Linked DNA regions of Homo sapiens: regions 1, 2, 3, 4, 5 and 6 are each linked to region 7. Evidence: promoter capture Hi-C in 16 types of primary human blood cells and fetal thymus (Javierre and others, 2016). All regions are on one chromosome and are shown on one strand. The core of a region is centred on a gene start or on the middle of the fragment in contact, and the rest is flanking DNA. Distances in the headings are between cores, read along the strand shown.

Evidence for each region. Contacts are between HindIII fragments. The CHiCAGO score rates a contact against its expected background, and 5 or more counts as called.
Region 1: a contact is called between the fragment with the promoter of PSMA3 here and the fragment with the promoter of DAAM1 in region 7, in 4 of 17 cell types (naive CD4 T cells, naive CD8 T cells, total B cells and 1 more). The highest score is 6.3, in naive CD4 T cells.
Region 2: a fragment that was not itself captured here is called in contact with the fragment with the promoter of DAAM1 in region 7 in 2 of 17 cell types (total CD8 T cells and naive CD8 T cells); the score reaches 6.1 in total CD8 T cells.
Region 3: a contact is called between the fragment with the promoter of ACTR10 here and the fragment with the promoter of DAAM1 in region 7, in 9 of 17 cell types (naive CD4 T cells, naive CD8 T cells, non-activated CD4 T cells and 6 more). The highest score is 15.4, in naive CD4 T cells.
Region 4: a fragment that was not itself captured here is called in contact with the fragment with the promoter of DAAM1 in region 7 in 1 of 17 cell types (naive CD4 T cells); the score reaches 5.6 in naive CD4 T cells.
Region 5: a fragment that was not itself captured here is called in contact with the fragment with the promoter of DAAM1 in region 7 in 2 of 17 cell types (M2 macrophages and erythroblasts); the score reaches 5.3 in M2 macrophages.
Region 6: a fragment that was not itself captured here is called in contact with the fragment with the promoter of DAAM1 in region 7 in 4 of 17 cell types (naive CD8 T cells, total CD8 T cells, fetal thymus and 1 more); the score reaches 6.8 in naive CD8 T cells.

The regions. Positions count from the first base shown.
Region 1 is chr14:58,243,515-58,246,214 of GRCh38, reverse strand. PSMA3 (proteasome 20S subunit alpha 3) reads right to left here and starts at 1,372. Exons shown (of 11, transcript NM_002788.4): 1 at 1,274-1,372. The coding sequence starts at 1,294. RefSeq lists enhancers at 899-1,348, 463-1,360, 1,529-1,728, 1,769-1,818. The HindIII fragment of the contact is 17,362 bases long and covers 1,074-2,700 here.
Region 2 is chr14:60,187,158-60,189,857 of GRCh38, reverse strand. No RefSeq gene overlaps it. Among named protein-coding and RNA genes, the nearest start is that of DHRS7, 23 kb to the right of the region's middle. The HindIII fragment of the contact is 2,835 bases long and covers 1-2,700 here.
Region 3 is chr14:58,198,810-58,201,509 of GRCh38, reverse strand. ACTR10 (actin related protein 10) reads right to left here and starts at 1,361. Exons shown (of 13, transcript NM_018477.3): 1 at 1,216-1,361. The coding sequence starts at 1,292. RefSeq lists enhancers at 979-1,168, 1,789-1,918 and a silencer at 1,329-1,718. The HindIII fragment of the contact is 4,366 bases long and covers 1,003-2,700 here.
Region 4 is chr14:58,569,601-58,572,300 of GRCh38, reverse strand. No RefSeq gene overlaps it. Among named protein-coding and RNA genes, the nearest start is that of DACT1, 67 kb to the left of the region's middle. The HindIII fragment of the contact is 3,073 bases long and covers 1-2,700 here.
Region 5 is chr14:58,470,946-58,473,645 of GRCh38, reverse strand. It overlaps KIAA0586, which reads right to left. Exons shown (of 31, transcript NM_001329943.3): 18 at 1,367-1,447. Among named protein-coding and RNA genes, the nearest start is that of KIAA0586, 45 kb to the right of the region's middle. The HindIII fragment of the contact is 178 bases long and covers 1,360-1,537 here.
Region 6 is chr14:60,088,337-60,091,036 of GRCh38, reverse strand. All of the region lies in intron 1 of PCNX4-DT (PCNX4 divergent transcript), which reads left to right. Among named protein-coding and RNA genes, the nearest start is that of PCNX4-DT, 2.1 kb to the left of the region's middle. The HindIII fragment of the contact is 2,424 bases long and covers 53-2,476 here.
Region 7 is chr14:59,187,401-59,190,100 of GRCh38, reverse strand. DAAM1 (dishevelled associated activator of morphogenesis 1) reads right to left here and starts at 1,434. Exons shown (of 25, transcript NM_001270520.2): 1 at 1,333-1,434. RefSeq lists enhancers at 282-441, 152-911, 1,692-1,931 and silencers at 802-1,021, 1,082-1,221. The HindIII fragment of the contact is 5,514 bases long and covers 1-2,700 here.

The DNA of each region.
Region 1 (2,700 bases), core at 123-2,622, 940 kb after region 7:
AGTGAACAGACATGTCAAGCAGACAAACAAATATTCGTATCTGGAGTTCTTGGGAGAAATGAAGACAGAAGAAAAGCCTTCAGCAGTGGTACTTTCTGAGTCTGTTTCCTGATCTGTTAAACCCAGATCATTAACCCTACCATTGTTACTAAAATATCCCACATGGTTACATTATCAAGTATTCTTTAAAAGGTTTGTAGAATGAAATACTATTAATTCAAGGTAATATTAATATAATTGCAAAGTCAGTTTGCTACAAGATTTAATATTGAGCATTTACTTATCCAAGAAAAGTATGGCAGAACTTTAGCATTCATAACTGAATGGATTAAACCATTCCAGACATAAGTTGCCTATTATCAAATTTAGAACACCGGTACTTGAACTTAAGGCTGAGCATGAGAATCTTGTTAAGAAGTAGAAATTGAGGAACTGAGAAACTCATTATTCAATAACTCTAGTGCAAATAACCAATAAATCTTTTAGAAACTGTATTTTCTATATAGAGAAGTACATAAAAGGAGTAAACTGACTGCACATATGCAATACGTTTAACAAAGGAAAGCCAAACAAGTTAACAAGTCCCACTGCAAAATCCTCAACAGTCTATGAAAAGTCTGAAGCTGTTAAGTTCCTAAGTAACCATTTAAACGTTTACGGAATAAATGCCTACAAGCGCTGTTAGGTAATTTGTATAGGAAAAACGAGAAAGGAAAAACTGAAGGATTCATCAGATTGTTTTTCAGACCATTTTTATTAGTTCTGTTCCGACAGGATTTCCAGTGACTCTTAAACTGAGCGGTCAATGATCTGCACACTTAAAGACAGAGAAGGCCTGTGAATCAGCAGCACCCTAGGAACTGCAAACGCAGTCCACAAAAAGCACGATCTCCAGACCCCGGAATCCCAAATCTCACTGCCTCGGTGGTTCTCAAGAGAACACACTATTTCAAGCCCCACGAGTTTCCACTTTCGGTTTCCCTAAGTGGCTGAAGAAAGTGACTCAGCAATCCAAAGCGGCTCCAAACCTCACTGCGGCGACGCCAAGCCGGCTACACCTGCGCTGAAAAGCTTCAGGAGTCACGGTCACCTGAGACGCAGGCCTAGCATATAGGGGATAAAGACGACCGGTCTCCAAACAGCTGCAAATGGCCCACCCAGCCGAAGGCGGTCTCAGAGCACCCCGGGTCCGCGAACCCCATGTGGTCTGTCCGAGTTCCCTTCAACCCCAATCCTTAGGTTAAACTATTACACCGACAGACAGCGAACTCACCCCAGTGCCGATTGAGCTCATCGTGCTAAACCCAAAGGGACGCGTAGGGATTCCAGGCCCGGAGCGCTTCCCCTATACCACAGGATGCCGCAAACTAGTAACAGGCCCGCTCATTGGCTGAACTGCCAACCAATAACCTTTTTCTCTGTGGCTCGTTCCGCGGCTCCGGCCCCCAGGACGAGGAGTATTGTGGGAAAAAAGCGGGCCGCGAGAGGCTGGCGGCGCGCATGTGCAGAAGCAATGGAGGCGGGGTTGGGGAAAGCAAAGGCTCCTCCTTCGGTTCGCGTACTTTGAGCCGCTTGGCGTCGTGGTATCTGAGAAGCTGCTCTATTCCTTTCCTTGGAATTATTATTTATCTTTTATATTATTATTCTCTCCTCACTTTATTCTTTCTTTAAGCCAAAGGGAGAGATGCTGGTATACTCTCACAAAAAGTAGAAAAAGCAGTAGGCGCGAAGTAACCTGTCTTCCTCCGCGTCCCGACCCTGACCCAGAATCTTGATGGCATCCACTTCACCTCCTTGTGCTCAGGCTCTCGTGAAGTTTCACTTAAAGGGTATCGTCTTTGAATTCAGCTTAGAATTTTACGGAAGTATTAGTGCTCTTTCTATGAGTATAACGCTTTTTGGTAAGAGTTAAAGATAAGTCTGATTAAAGATATTTTTTGAGCGCTAGTATATTCCACGTGTTCAAGAAAAAGCCGTGAACAGAGCATACCCCCATTTCTAATGTAATTTCCATTCAGTGGGAATAAATAGGTAACAATAAATAAGCAAAATAGTAAGAAGAAAGAGTGCTTTAATAGACAATGGAGGTACTAACTTTAGGCAGTGTGCTCAGGGAATGACTTTCTGAGTGAGTGATATTTAAACTAAAATAGGGTAACAAAAGACAGTGGTTTAGGGAACAGTAAAAAACTTGGCTTGCGCTGGGAACTGTCACGTCAGAGTGACCTCTCATAATGATTAAGTGGGGAAGAATGACAGGAAGAGAACAAGTGCACAGGAGACCAAATCTTGAAGTGGTTTGAATTTTAATCCGATTGTAAATAGGGCATCAGCATTTTTTTTACTCCTAAATATTAATACGTCAGTGTGTATTTTCCCCCAACACAGGAACATTATTTCACAGAGACACAGTATTATTGTGAAAATCAGAAAATTACCAATACTATGATCTATCAACTTTATGCATTTTTTTTTTTTTTTTGGTAAATGGCCCAATAATGTCCTTCATAGCAAAAGAAAATCCAAGATCACACCTTGCATTCAGTTGTCATGTTTCCAATCTGCTTTAGTCTGGAAAATAGTTGCTTAGTATTTCTTCAGTTTTCATGGCATGAACACTTTTGAAGAATACAAACCATTTATTTTGTAGAATATTCCTTAATTTAGGTTTGATTTTTTTGTTATTTGATTCAAGTGATG
Region 2 (2,700 bases), core at 168-2,667, 1.0 Mb before region 7:
AGACTGGCACCTTAAGCATCACCAGTTGTTCTCTGCTAACACCCTGGTAGGAACCTGGAAAGAAGACATGAAATAGACACAGAAAAAGGAAGAAGGGACTGGAAGAAGGAAGTGACAGTAGCAAAAACAAAAAGCCTGTTTTCTCATTTTTCCCCTAGAGCATTTCATGATTGTAATAATGGGACAAAGGCCTTGTGTTGCTCTATTTATTGTATAATTTTGTTTAACAGATACCTTTTTAGCACTTACTGTGTGTTAGATACCAATCTATGCGCTTTATAAATATTGACTCATTAATTCCTTATAACTACCTTAAGGTATGAACACTTTTATTATCTCCACTGGGTAGTTGAGGAAACAGGCACAAAGAGGTTGAGGTGGAGGGTCTCAAGGTCACAAGCTAGTAAGTGGCAGAGCCAAGATTCTGCATCGAAGTCATTGGGTGCCAGCATCCCAGCTCTCAGCCGCTATACTCTGCTTATATACTAACCATATATGTTTTCAATTCTTTTTGAAAGTGTTGGTATTAGAAAATGTGGATGAGAAGTCAGCTTAATGGTAACATAGCCAGAATTTATAGCCAGAATTTGGCTTTCAGTTGGAGAATTATAATAATGTCTATAGCGGACTGGGAAGGCCGAGTCCTGGAATTCTATTCTTCGTCTGTTTTATGTAGCACTTAGAGAGCTAGAGCAACTCATAACCTCTGTATTCATCTTTGGATGGAGATTTTGAAGTTCATCAGATAAGAATTTTAATTTTCAAATAAAAGAGAAGTTGAACTTTCCCAAAGGGCATTTGGGCATTAGCCCAAAAGTGAAGGAAACTTCACTTTTTGATCATTCAAAAACAGAGAATAATGGGATGGGAGAATAAAGGAGGGGGCTCAAAGTATTTTGTGGAATCTGAAACTCTTCTATGTGGCTTAGATCATGGGAATTTTCTTGGCCTGCGTTGTGAAGGTAGCATGACCCTTTCTCTATGAGGGATGTGAGTTATTCACTATTTCAAACTGTACAATTGCTTCATTATGTCCACACCCACATTTTTCTGTTTATAGCCAAAGAAAAGGCCTGTTGTTGATACTAAATTACCACCTGAAAATAAGAGTATCATAATTCTTAATTAATTCTTATTCTAAAATATCTTACACTGTCTGGGGAACAGTATATTTTATTTGAGATTGAAAAACAATCTTCAATCATCTTTTATATGAGAAAAAGTATTAAATATTTCTAGGTATTAAAAAATCTAGGTATTTAGAGGTATTAAATCTTTAAAAATTTTTAAATAGCCCTTCACAACCATCAAAAATTGTGTTTTACTTTTTAAGATGTTATGCTTTTTTACACATTAGTGAATTTATTCACAGAACCTGGGTTTTAGGCCTTTGAGAGTTATGGAATACCTAAATGGTTATAGGCCATTGTTCAGAAGCCATTGCACTCCGAAGTCTCAATGGAGAGCTATTTTGGTCCCACACAGGACATTTGGCAATGTCTGGAGACATTTTTGATTATCATAACTTGTGATGGTGGGAGGTTGTTACTGACATCTAGTGGGTTAAGTCCAAGGATGCTGCTAAATGTCTTATAATGTACTAGACAGCGCCCACAACCAAGAATTATCTGGCCCAAAATGTTAACAGTGCTGAGTTTGAGAAACCCTGCAATAGAGATTTTCAAAGCCCTATTTGTAGGACTTTTTACATAGACCCTTCGTTTTATGTTGCTTGCTTTACAAGCCCCCTCATTTACACAGCCAGTCCACCTGGGAGTTTACTGGCTCACAAAGGTACCCAGTGGGACTCGATGATCAGAGAGAATCAGGGAAGCTCTATCTCAGGGGTTAAGGGTCCAAACCACACTAAAAACAATTTTTTGAGCTAACTCAGGAAAGTAATCTTTATTTATAACTTAGAAAAAATATTTGCTAAGCATTAGTCTTGAAGTGAACTTTTGGAACACACCTGTCTAAAAACTTGATCCTGCCTGGCTTGTGTTTCTCATTGCAGATCATGGGATAACAGTTGTGTCTGTATTGTTCAGCGCCATGCTCCTCAGCTCCTGGAAATCTTAAAGAATAGTCACTGCCAGTAGGACTTTTTGTTGAAAGAGTACAAAGTACCACAGAGTGGTAGTAGATGATGGACTTTGGATTCAAGTGTCATCACTTTTGGATGTGTGGTCTTCTTTAATGTAATCTTCAAGACGCTCATCTGAAGTATCAATCTTAACACACTTGGTCAAATAATATGAAATGGCTTATCCATATCACATGCTCTCCAATGCCCGGCATACAGTATGTGTTCAATTAACGCCAATTCTCTTCTCCCTGCTTATCTGTCTTAGGTAGAACTCTTCCCTTCCTTTCCTAGCTCATAAAAATAAAACTTAGGTTCTTTTGCAAGTATTCGGAAGGGAAGTTCTGGCCTTACTTCCATCTATGATGTTCCTCTACAAGGGAGTAGAAAAGATTCATTTGATTGGTGAGATTTGGGGAAAAGAACCCCATGAGTTCACATGGAGCTTTTGTACAGATGACACAAAAGTGCTCCCTCTGGGTGGACACAGCCCTCTGTCCACAAGGCTTGATGGACGGATGGTATCTTTATGTAACATGGATTCAAACCAGTGAGTATAGCTTGGCTAGTGAAATGTGGACTGGATTTCAATCCCCACCTGCTCCTTGGCTGGCACC
Region 3 (2,700 bases), core at 112-2,611, 990 kb after region 7:
CCATGTTTACTTGCATCAGTGCTCCTCAAACATCTCAGAATGCAAGCCATTAGACTTCAATTCCTTTTTTTTACTTCATACATTTATCTTATCATCCTCCTGCTGTCTTTTTCAAATATAGCTTTTTGCTTATTTCTTCCAAGTACAGCCAAAATAATTATCTTTGACTAGAAGCCTCGAACTGTTTATTACGCTTTCAAAATAATTTTAATAAGAAAATATAAATAAGGAAGGGCCTCGCATAGAACAATAAGAGAATGTCATTAACCAAGGACTATGTTTAATCCAATTCTGGAGTTCCTGGGGTCCAATTTTTAAATAGGCTCTTTTAACCACTTAGTCAATAAATAGTTATTAAATACCTACTACACGTCAGGAAGTGCCTAGAGATATAAAAAGATTTTTCAAATGTTTCATTTTCATAAATACATATATGATGTAATTGCCTGTTACTTCCCTCTCTGTTGAGCCCATCACAAGGACTCTTAATCTAGGGTCCCAGGACCACATTGATTGTCTGCCAATTCCCTGAAACTGTGTATAAGTACCTTAAGATTTGTGCATTTGTGGTTTTCATCCAGCCATTAAAGAGATCTATGCCATCCGAAAGGTTGAGAACCTCCTCTCTATTGTTTACAAGTTGGTTTGTTTAAAACATGTCAAATCTAACCTTCGAGTTTAGGGGAGCCAACAAAGGATTTCCAGAATCTTATCTATAGGGTTTCACCTCTTAATGTGCCCAGTCTCCCTAATTCTTGAGCAGCGATAGCCCTGTCTTAAACATCTTTCCATTTTCAGCACCAAAATAAACTCCGTTCAATATTTTATGATGAAATTCGTCATCGAGCATTTACATTCGGTTGGCTGCCTTCCTCAACTGAGGAGCCCAGGGTAAGCGGGGTCTAGGTCACGGTTGTCATCCCCTACACAGATGATCCCAAAGGGTTTGTTGGGTTTGGGGTGATGACAAGGGGCGGCGACGAGGGCAATTCAACAGAAGCTTTCTGGGCCTCTCTGGGAGTCAGACCCCGATCCTCGGATTCGCATCGCCCAGGGAGGAAATAATAAGAGCTGTTATTTGCAAGGGCGCTGGTTGAAGAAAAGGGGAGGCCCGGAGCTGCCCAGCGAGTCGGCGATGAGGACCCAGGCAGTGCCTGGGGCTCTGCCACCCGCCCTCCCCTCGGGTCGAACACAGCTGGCGTCACGGCCACTCACTTGGTAAAGGCCTCTCCCAGGTCGATCACGACCGCCGTCTTCTCCCCGCCGCTCCCCAGGCCCTCGTAGAGCGGCATGGTAGTAAGGCAGACTGAGAGAAGAGGGTCGCAGTCTCCGCGGCCAACAAGTCTCGGCGCTCGCGGGGCGGGGCCGGGGCTCCGGCGCTCGGGCGTCGGCGACGGCGGGGGCCTCGCGCGGCCGCGGCGCGCCGGGCCCGGGCTGTCCCAGGCTGTGCCTCATTCCGCGTTGGACCCACCCTTGCAGGTGCTGCCGTCGCCAGGACTAGGGGAAAAGAGGCGCTGGCGGGCGCGAATCCGAGTGCGGGGGCGCGGAGGCCGCGGCGATCAGGCGCGCCGGTCGCCCTGAGGGGGCGGAGCCGGCCTCCCTATCCTTCCCTCCCACCACGCCCCAAAGCCGCACCCACGCGCGGCTGTGAAGAGGTTCGGTCTCAGCTCACTGTGAAGAGGTCACTGAGGACCTGGCTGCCAAGGGGCAGCCGAGAGACGACGCAATTCCGAACCTTTGATTCATGCTCTTGGGGGGCAGAAGATGCTGAGACCCTATTCTGTGCTAGGCGTTTTGCCTAATATTTAATCTTCTCAAGAAATAACAAGAATATGTGTTTTCTTATCTGTGGGGACCGACGCTCAGAGAGATTAACTTTCCCAATGTCCCACGGCAGAGCCAGGAACAAACCCACAGACTTCCTAATTGCAAAGCCTATGCTAATGATGCTTTAGAGAATAATACGTACAGACAATACTTTAGTTAGTAGTCTTTCTGAAAGTTTTTATTTTACTCCAGAATTAAGCAGCTAGAGTAGCGTCTGTGAATCTTGAATCTGTCCATAGAGGAGCGGTCGGGATGGTTTAATAGAAGAAACATTGAAGCAAAGGCCCCTATTAGGTTGGTGCAAAAGTAATTGCTGTTTTTGCCACTACTTTTAACATTTACATTACTGTTTACATCTTTGTCACTTCACAGCTTTCTGTGAAAATATTTTTTTCCTGCAAATATTAGCTCTAACTGTATCTATGCATAGGAGTGGAAAAGACTGTCAAAGGAGAGGCTGTGCAATAAGAAAAGAGGTTCAAGGGTAAATCGGTGAGGACTAGCAACATTTAGCTGGTGTACTGGGTTGAATGATGCCCCCCCCCCCAAAATTCTTGTCCACTGGGAACCTCAGAATGTGACCCTATTTGGAAATAGAGTCTTGGCAGATGTAATCAAGTTAAGATGAGGTTATACTGTATTAAGATGTCCCAACTGTCCGAGCGCAGGATCACACCTGTAATCCCAGCACTTTGGGAGGCCGAAGCGGGAGGATCCCTTGAGCCCAAGAAGTCTAAAGCGGCAGTGAGTCGGGATTGTGCCGCTGCACTCCAGCCTGGGCAACAACAAGAGTGAGAGCCTGTCTCTCAAAAAAAAAAAAAAAAAAAAAAAAGGCCCTACTCTAATGGTTGGTAACTAGAGTTAGCGGGGTAG
Region 4 (2,700 bases), core at 78-2,577, 620 kb after region 7:
CTGGCGTTTCAAAGTAGTGCAGTTCAAGCTCCAGAATATACAGAGTAAGACATTCAGCTAAGTAGGCTCTGTAGGCCCCGCTGCATGGCACCACCCCCTCTACCCCGAGGTTTCCATTACCCACAGGCTTTGATCTGGTAAACAAATCTGCCTCCAATCATGTGGCAAAGGTTGCCGTTCTCTCACTCTCCTCCCTGTGCTAGGGAAAACTGAACAGTTAACAAATAGAAAGCGTTCTGTGTCAGTTCATTATTTTGTACCTGATTTGGAAAGACGGAAAAACAGCCTTTTCAAGCAGTATCTTTTGCCAATTTCCTCTCTTCCCTTCCCCCAGAACCTAAACCCTGGGATTCTCCCTAGGAATTTTATAGAAACCAGCCTGTCTGGAATATTCTGCTGACAGAAAGTCAGGAATTGATGCCAGCCGGAGAAAACACAACTTCTGCCACCTCTGTAATTCCAGAAAAGCCTTGCCTTCCCTGCAGCATACACTATAGCCAGGCCTTGCCTCATTTGGCTTTGTAGCCTCAGCACCTAAGTATCCAGAACACAGTGCCCAATACATGCTTGTCACATTGAATTAATTGTATTAAAGTCAGTTGATCTCTCTTAATCTCATTTAAAGATGGGAAGTGCCACACATCCCACCAAGGGGGAGGGAAAGGTGCAAGGATAAGTGAGCGTTTTCTCTTGGACGAGAAGTGGGCAATGTGGGAGAGAGCCCTGCCAGAGACATTTAAAATTGGCCCAGTGGCCAGTTGTAGTGGCTCACGCTTGTAATTCCTAGCACTTTGGGAGGCTGAGGTGGAAGGATCGCCTGAGGCCAGGAGTTCCAACCAGCCTGGGCAACATAGGGAGACCCCTGTCTCTACAGAAAAGTTTAAAACATTATCTAGGTATGGTGGCACATACCTGTGGTCCCAGCTACTTGGGAGAGTGAGGCGGGAGGATTGCATGAGTCCAAGGTGGGGGTCGAGGCTGCAGTGAGCTATGATTACACCACTGCACTCTAGCCTAAGCAACAGAGCGAGATCCTGTCTAAAAAAGAAAAGAAAGAAAGAAAAAGAAAATGGGAATAACTACATCTAATTCACAGTGTGATTATAAAGATGGAATTTGATCTTTCTAAAAAAAAAAAAAAACCCAAAGAAAAAATTGTATGGGTTCCTATGTCCCAAAGGATAAATAAAGTGAAATTTCTTGCAGTTAAGTGTCAGAGAGGCTTTGGAGCTTATTACTTGGGTGCTGTTGAGTAGGTTATTTCATCTGAGTTTCAGTTTCTTCATTTGTAAAATTAGGATAATAATATCTACTTTGGAGGGTTGTGGTGAATACAAAATGAACAGACATGTAAAGTTCTCGGCATAAGCATTGTATGTACTAAGTATTCCATAAATGCTAGCTATTAGTGTTATGAACATAGCCTGTACATTGCAGGCACATGACTAAAACTAAATAACTGTTTGGTGAGTGAATAAATGAATGAATGAACATAGCTGTGTCAGTAGGGAGTGTATGTGGCTACATGTAATAGAAACCCCACTACAGTGACCAAACCAAAAGCTGGGTTTTTTTGTCATGTAATAAGAAGTCCAGGTTTGGGCAACCCAGGGCTGGCACACTCCTCAAGGAAGTCATCGGGTACCCAAGCTCCTTCTTACATGTGGTCCTCAACCTCAGATCTGCAAGACATTCTGCTTCCTGTGCTCCATTTAGGAGCTTCGGTTGCCTCATCTGTAAAATGGGAATAGGCTGAAACCCTTTTTGGTGAACCATTCTATGATTCTCCAATAAACTCAGTACCAAATAAGCACTGCTCATTTGGGATCATGCCATTTGGAGATAGCTTATTTTATATCCGATAAATAAGCCACCAAGTCTCAATCCCACTCACGCCCATCATTCAAAAAAATTATAAAAATATTTGGCAACATGAAGAAATACTTATAAAAATATTAAATGAAGGCCGGGTGCAGTGGCTCACATCTGTAATCCCAGCACTTTGGGAGGCCTAGGCAGGCGGATCACGAGGTCAGGAGATCGAGACCATCCTGGCTAACATGGTGAAACCCCATCTCTACTAAAAATACAAAAAATTAGCTGGGTGTGGCGGCGGGCGCCTGTAGTCCCAGCTACTCGTAAGGCTGAGGCAGGAGAATGGCGTGAAGCCGGGAGGCGGAGCTTGCAGTGAGCGGAGATCGCGCCACTGCACTCCAGCCTGGGCAACAGAGCCAGACTCTGTCTCAAAGAAAAAAAAATTAAATGAAAAAAAGCACACTATAACATTTGGTCCAGGTACTGACAAGGAAAGTTCTAAGACATGTTAAGAGAATAAAAGGAAGTCACAGACAACACTTACAGTTGATTTCACTTTTGAAAAAAACAAAATGATAACAAAACTAAAACTGATTTGGATGAGGTAATGAAGACTTTCACTTTTAGCTCTATAGACTTCTATTGTTTTGAATTTTTACAGGACATATATATTCATGCATTGCTTATCTAATAAAATCAATCTAAATATTATACCTATGTAATAATGTAATTATATAAAACCATGCACAGCATAAATCTTGGGGAGGATTATAGGACAATAAAACTGTGTGTGTCAGGCTGGTGAAATTATAGAAAAATTCCTTGTTTGTGCTATTGTTATATTATATGTGTAAGAAATATAATTTTTCCCCACAAGTTGTTCAC
Region 5 (2,700 bases), core at 199-2,698, 720 kb after region 7:
GCATGAGCCACTGTACCTGGCCTTAAGTCTCTTTTCTTTATAAATTACCCAGTAATTCCTTTATAACAATGCAAAATACACTAATACACTTCCAAAATCACTTTTTGCTCTTATACAACTTATAATTTACATTTAAATATGCAATAAGGTCAGTCATCTTACAAATTATTTGCATTACCACATCATAACCAATAGAGTTATTTCTGGAATTGTTAAAGTTTTTATTACAAAAAAATCATATGTGTTTAAAAGTAAACAAATAGTGTCCTTGTACTGTATCTGTTACATAAATAACATGAATTGCATTTATCCGCTCCCCAGCTTTAACAATTATCAACTTATGGTCAATCTTGTCTCATCTAGCCACTTTCCCCTTCACATATCATTTTGAAGCAAATCACAGATATCACATCATTTTATCTATAAATAATTCAATCAAAAACACTTTGGGTCTCTCTAAATAGTACAACTCAGTAATATTATTCCATTGAAAAATGAAGTCCACAGCTTATAAATGGCAGAGCTAATACAGGAACACTTGTCTTTGAATGCTAAATTCTCTGCTACTTCTATAACCATTTCTTTCGCTTGTATATTGCATAAACAATTACCAAGTACCTTTGCTAGGCATTAGGAATATAAAAATAAATAAGGTCCCTGTCTTCAAAATTCTCATGTGGCACTCACATGAGAAAAGACATATCTGTGAGCGAATAACATTAATATACTGCACACCTCTGTATATTCTAAAATTGGATTTCATTTTATGATTAACAAAACTGATCTTAGCTCTAAAAGTCAAAGAAACTTGATCAAATGTGTTCTTTAAAGTCTAATGACATAATGGTCAAGTAGTTTCAATGTTCTATGATCTTTTGTCCCATCCTTTATAATTTACTTCCACCTATTTTTCCCTCTATTTCATTATTTCTATCATTTCTATAACTCTTCCTTCCATATGGGATATTCCTTTGGATTATAGATTTCTCACAACTTTTTTCTCAATATCAATTAACTAGTCACCTCACCATGAATCCAAAAACCAAAATTAACAGAAAGAAAAAAAGACAAATTGGAGGAAAAGAAGCCAAAGGAAGTGGAAAGAAAGAAGAAAGCAGGAAACAGATAGACAAAATCTAGGTGGGGAACGGCAGATAATCATGAAGCTTCATGAAGGCAGATAGGTGATATAGATTAAAGACATTCTAGAATAACAACTTTATAATTTTTAAAAGTATATTTAACTCAAAAGTAAAAGAAAGTATCTCAAAGCACTGTAACATAATATTGATAGTCCAAAGATAGTCAACAACCTGGAAAAATACCGGTAGAAAAATAATTTCTCATGGTTTCTAAGCTTTGTTACCTGTATGACATCGATTATTTCATCAAAGTTAGTTCCTGGAAACTTCACCTCTTCTTCATCTACCTTCATAATTTCTGGAGTCTAAGAAAGCATTTTCAGAAAGTTTTTGTTGTGCTTAACACTTTTAAAATTTATAAGTAATTTATCATATTTCCACCTATAGTATAAGCTTATAATTACATGGTCCTTTTTAATCATTTTAATACCCTATTCAGAATTGATTTAATTAGTAAATGAAATCCAAGCTAGTCCCCAAGCCATTAGGTCAACATTTCAATAGCTTTAAAAAATTAATCAGCTGTTTTTCTGTAAAGGACTCCATCAGCAATATCACTTAATTGATCAACAGGTTGATATAATTGAGACTTCTCTTCCAGAATTAAGATAAAGGAAAGTGTTTACATGTGTAGATCTCTAAGTATAAACATATATGAACTCACATGAAGATGGATACAGAATCAAATAATTCAGGAAAAAAAACAAAATAGTCATTTTACAAATCTAATCATTAGGCCTCATTATATAAAATGTAGTCATGCAATAGCCTCTTACTGACAGCAGAATGATAAACAGTCCAAAAATTTATTGCTTGTTATCACAGAAGTTTCAATAAACAGAAGGTTAAAAAAAAATACTGATGAAAAAATTCAATTAAGCACAAATGTCACTTACGGACAGTTCTATTTCATTACTTATGATCATGAAAGATTGCTGGTATTCTCTCTCCTTTTAAAACTGTACCCTTGGCCAAGTTTGCTTACAATAAACAAAACCTGGGGTAAGTTACAGTGCTATTTTGCTGTGTAGTAAAGCCATAACTTCATTATTCAAAAGCAAATAAATGCCAGGAAGAAATGCATATTTTTGTATCATGTCAACAGTGGGATAACAAGGTAACATTCCAAAATATAAACTCCCAACTGTCACTATAAAATTCATTTAGGATATCTATAATTCCCATGTAAATCAAAGATTCATCACCAAAGTGACAGAAATTCTTTCTTCACATGAGAGTTTCACAACTTAAATTACCAAAAAGTTACACTAAAGATTATCACTTTCCAAATAGTTATAAATGTAAGGATCTGAAACAAACTTTCAAGTTCATAAACAATTCAAAATTTGTTTTGGGCTGGCGTGGTGGCTCACGCCTGTAATTCCCGAACTTGGGAGGCCGAGGTAGAGGGATCACTTGGAGTCAGGAGTTCAAGATCAGCCTGGCCAGCATGGTGAAACCCCATCTCTACTAAAAATACAAAAATTAGCCGGGCGTGGTGGCAGGCACCTGTAATCCCAGCTACTCAGGAGGCTGAGGCAGGAGAATTGGTTGAACC
Region 6 (2,700 bases), core at 15-2,514, 900 kb before region 7:
TTCAGGTCGTAATAGAAAAATAATTACTGTGTTCATATTAAAAGCCAAAGCTTTATTTATTTATTTTTAAGATATTGTGTCCAGAGCAAAAGTGTAGTGTGTTGAAAGCATGTGGAAGAAAACCCCGGATATACATATACTTGTCTTCAAGGACTTAATTTGCAGGTAGACCCTTTCATAGTTTGGTATCTTCACGATTTGATAGAATATGGGAAAACGTGCTGTTGGTCCATCCATAGTTTTTCTCATTGAAGCTCACTCATTGCGGGTCAGAGTACCACATTAAGCATCTCGGAAGCATCACTTACCGCCAAGAAGTCTGAGTTTCATGTAATTAAGAGTGGAGGCTCCAGAGTCAGGAAGTCTGGGTTGAAACCCTGGCACTACTGCTTACTACTTGTGAGATCTTGAGGTTATGTAATTTCTCTAGTGCTCAGTTTCCCCATATCTTGTAAAATAAGGCAAATAATAGAACTTAACCCGCAGAGAGTTATGTCATTGGATTAAATCAAATAATTGTAAATTGCTTAGCAGAGTAAATGGCACAGCTTAAGTGCTTAGTAAGGATGAGCTATTATCTTTATGTAGAGAGTCTGTATTTATGCTTGTTCTTCTCATGGGCATTACATATGACCCAAGCAGAATTAACATGTTTATTGTTGAAATATCTGCTGTTTTTCAAATATATTTGAACATCGTGCTTTCTTAGAATAAAATTAGTAGGGCATATGGTACAAGCCCTTTGGTTAGCTGTGTATAAAATATTCATTCAACATTTATTGAAATAGTGAAGGGAATAGTGGTTCCTATTTGTCAGGAACTACACTAATTGCTGCAGATATAAAGTCAAATAAAACATGATCCTTAAGGAATTTACCAAAATATAACTTGGACATCAAGGACATAACTTGAACAACAAGGACATCAGTAATTACAGTGTATGTGATAAACAGGTATGCGCTGAGCTTCAGAAACAAAGTGGGACACATAATTCTGGGGAAATTAAGGATGGTTGCAATCCATTTTTAAAGGGTGAGTGGACAGCTGGGCCAGGCGTGGTGGCTCTTGCCTGCAATCCTAGCACTTTGGGAGGCTGAGGTAGGAGGATCGCTTGAGCCTAGGAGTTTGAGGCAACATGGTGAAACCCTGTCTCTACAAAAGATACAAAAAATTAGCCAGGTGTGGTTGTGTGCGCCTGTGGTCCCAGCTACTCAGAGGCTGAGGTAAGAGGTTGTTGCAGTGAGCCGAAATTGCACCACTGCACTCCAGCCTGGACAACAGAGTGAGATCTTGTCTCAAAAAAAAAAAAACAAAACAAAAACAAAAACAGAGTTAGCTGGGAGAAGAGGTATTCCAGGTAGGGGAACATTTATTCTTTAATTCATTCAACACATACTTAGAGCATACATAGAATCAGTACTTTGTGTACCTCATTTAATCTTAACCTTATGAGGTAGCTTATTATTATTTCAAATGTAAGGAATCTGAGCTTGAGAAAAGTAAAATAAGTGATGACATCTGGAGTTGAGTCCGTATCTGTATGTCTTCAAGATTCGTGTATTTTTTCCTACCCTGCTGATTCACATAAAATGAAACAAATTGTGAAAAATCTGGAACTGCTGCTTCAGCCAGAGAAGATGTTTAGCCAGGCATTATCATGACATACGTGTTATTGTGTAATGGTAATGCCCGTTTTCAGTTCATACCCAAGTTAACTTCTCTTGCTAAAAAGTAAAACAAAAGCAAAACCCACACCATAAACCCTCACTCTGCCTTGTTCCCAGAGACCACTGGCCAGAAGTCTCTGAAAATAATGCAGAGCTGCAGCACTAGGTATGGGCCAAAGAGAAGGCAAAATCATGCTCACAGTTCCGGGTGCCTTTAAAGAAACACAGGAGGAATAATAGCTTTGGGAAGAAAGATAATGAATCTACTTTGAGACCTGTGTGTAAGGGGCTGATGCGATATTCAGGTGCCTATGCCCAGTTGGAAATACAGAATTGGACCTATATTACATATTGACCTTGGGAGAGAAGTTAAGATGTAGAATATTCAATAATTTTTTTTAAAAGATTGTTGAAGTAATAAGATTGGAAAAGAATGTCAAGGTTTATATCTTAATGGGACAAGAAGAAAACCGAAGAAGAAAAGGACTATAAAATAAAAAGATTGACTTATATGGCTTATTGAAAGTCACTGTATCATAGATCATGATATGCATCAAACATCATGTGAAAGGACATGTGATGAGTAGAAATTTTAGAGTGTCTGAGCATGTTCGTGAGATTTGGGTTGGGCAAGTTATGAGTTATGAGAATATTAAAGACAGGACGTGCCCAATAGTTAATTACAGTGTTTCATATTGAAACTTTCTTTAATATAGAAACTTTCATATCCCATAAACAATCATAAATAGAACCATCAAATAAACAATATATAATGTAATCATAGCTTTGCGATTGGTTGGTCTCAAGCTTTACTCTAAGATACAATATATTTCTTTTAAATTGCAGTTCTGAAAAATTTACAGTAATTACTGATGGGGAGTGTATGATAAAAGAATAGTTTCAAATTTTGGTTATGATAAAGAATTTTTAGTTTTCTTGTATAGCTCTTAAATTTCACTATTATTCCACAGCAATAACTTCACAGATGAGACTTTATTTTAGAGGTGTTCCAGTTGATATTATTTTGGAACAT
Region 7 (2,700 bases), core at 185-2,684:
CCGCAGAGCCACATCGAATCGAAACAGCAGTGGCAGCGGCTAAGATTCCGAAGGCAGGAGTCGCCATGGCAACGGGATTCATCTTGCAGGCAACTCCGCTTCGATTCACTGGGTCCTGCTCGAATCTCAAGAAACTACCAGCAAAACGGTCACGGTGGCATTTGCTCTTGATGCTCTCCAGAAAGTGGAGATGAAGGAGAGGGGAATGGAGTTCAGGCATCACTAAATATGTTATGGGGCGAGAGGTAGCTCCGCAAAGCCAGGCCGTGAACAACTTGAGACCTTAGCAGGGTTTGATGAATGAGTAAACGAACAAATGAAGGTACTAGGAAAGGCAAAGAACATCCAGAGGACTGAGAGCTCTGGGCCTCCTGCACGTCTCCACTCAGAGGGCAAGCCGATCACAAGCAGTTGGCTTTCAGAACCAGCTGGGTAAACCCGATTATCCAGCCCTCCTGCCCCACAGCGAGCCTAATCATTAGATTATCCGACACCTCCACCCCCGCGCTACCACCTCCTGGCCCAGGGCTTCAGGGCAGGCGCTTCGCCCCAGCCCAGGTGCTCTACACCAAGGGACCGTGGAGACTGAGATGCGCCCTCCCGAGAGGGACGGGCGGCAAAAGCCCTCTGCGGTGCCTCACAACCGGGTCCGCAGGCGGCGCAGCCTCCCCGGCCGCCAACACCCTGCTCTCCCTCCGCAACGCCCGATTTCCCTTCTCTCTGTTTTGAAACATTTAGGTCCAACTTAGTCTGAATTACAGGCGCTCCGTCCCTTTCGAATGGGGCTGGAAGTGAGGGTGCCAGGGGCACTGGGGGCTCTGCTCGGACGCGAACGGGTACACGAGTCCCTCCTTCCCTGTCGCCACCGCCGTGTCCACCAAGCCTGCCTCGGGGTTCTCCCTCTCGGAGCCGCCGGGCCGGGAGCTCGCGGACGCCGCTGCAGTACCCGCGGCCCCAGCCCCGGGGAGCCTTCAGCAAGGCGGCGAGTGTTACCCCGCCAGCTCCTCGGCCAGCCGGGCGCCTTAGAAAGAAAGGGAGGGACCCCAGTCCTTGGGGGCGTCTTCCTCCCTGCTGCCTCGGTTTGCGTTGCGCTGCAGCCATTTTCCCACCCCCAGCTAGGCAGCCGAGAGCTGTCTCGGTCCCGTTCCCACCCAGACCCAACCTGAAGGACGGGTTTAATATTTACCTACTGGCCCGGGAGCTCCGGGGAGGCAGCAGGAGGGCGCGCCGCGAACCCAGCGCCCAGCCCACGGAAGCACGCCCACCCCCGCACCACTGAGCAGTGCCACTTAATGAATGAGTGCGGCGGGCAAGGAGGAGCGTCCCCCTTACCTGAGCAGCCCCTGCATGCTGGAAAGGCGGCTCTGCACTCTGGGTACAATGGGATCCGGTTAAACAGTTTCCTTCACAGCCGCTCGTAGGTTACTAACTCGCAGGTGACATCACCCTCTCCTCGCCTGATAGGATACAAAGTGGCTCCCACTGCGCATGGACGCTCCGGTCGGGCGCGCAGACTCCTGGGAGTAGTGGTCCCAATCTATTAGCGGAGCCGGGACAGCTTTGCTGTCGGGACTCGCGGAACTACATCTCCCGACACACTCCTCCGCCCTTCTGCCCCGCCTCTTATTCCCGCCCCCTTCAGGACCCGCCCCCTCCCAGCCTTACAGCCTTGCAGTGTTAGCGGTGGTCGTTCCGAAGCCGAGCTGCGGACCGCACGGGAGAGTGGGAGGGCTGCCCTGCGGTCGTGTGTGTTGACTTGACCTCTACTTTGCCCGGCGCGGGCTCTGAAGGATCGGAGAGGTCCGGGGCTCGCGTGGTCCGGCCAGGCTCGCTCTAACTGGTCTTTCTTGGTCCCTGCTGGGAAGGGACGATTAAGACTTTTCTGCCTTCCCCAGGCGTAGCAGCTAATTCAGAGGGCTTACTGTTTTCTGGGTTAAATACGGTCCTCGAATTCTCCCCGCTCAACACTTCCAGAGGATGGGGCGACGCCGGTCCCAAGGCGGAGGAATCTCCTTGTACCCCCTCAATTCACCTTTCTCTTTTCTGCTTCCCGTTTAACGGAGACAAGGTGACCAGGCAGAACGCGGGGAACCACTTAGTCGGCTGAGCTGACAGAATAACGGAGGTTGTCACTACCAGAAGTGCGGTGTGATAGACTAGACAGTCGCCGCAACCCTCCGTCAGGGCGCCTGCTGCTGCTGCAAAGATAATACTATCGTGCAGCCATGCTTTTGTTCATCCCTGCAGCAGACTTCCCGCGCTGGTGGCTCTCCACTCCCAGGAAGAAAACGTCCTTGTCTAAAGTTTTAATAATTGTGTATCTATGTATACACATGTTTTTAAATCCACAACACTCTCACCTCATTTTCCATACCTTTTCAAATATTTTTATAAAGACATTAAACCAAACAACATCGTGCCGTTCAAGAATTGCCCTGCTCTTAACACACCTAAATATTTATTTAAAGGTAAGCAAAAGGTGTGTAGCAGAATTCTGACCCTTTAGGCAGGTTGTATTGTTAATACATAATTTTTTCCGTGGCATTTTTCATTATTCAGTGAATACCAAGTGTCTTTTAATATGAAAAGAATCAATGCATTTAGTTACTCGAGTTGTAAATGTAAATTTTAATGGCATTTGATGTGTCTCAATTCCATATAATGATCAGCTCACACACCCGTTCCACTAGCAAAATCTCT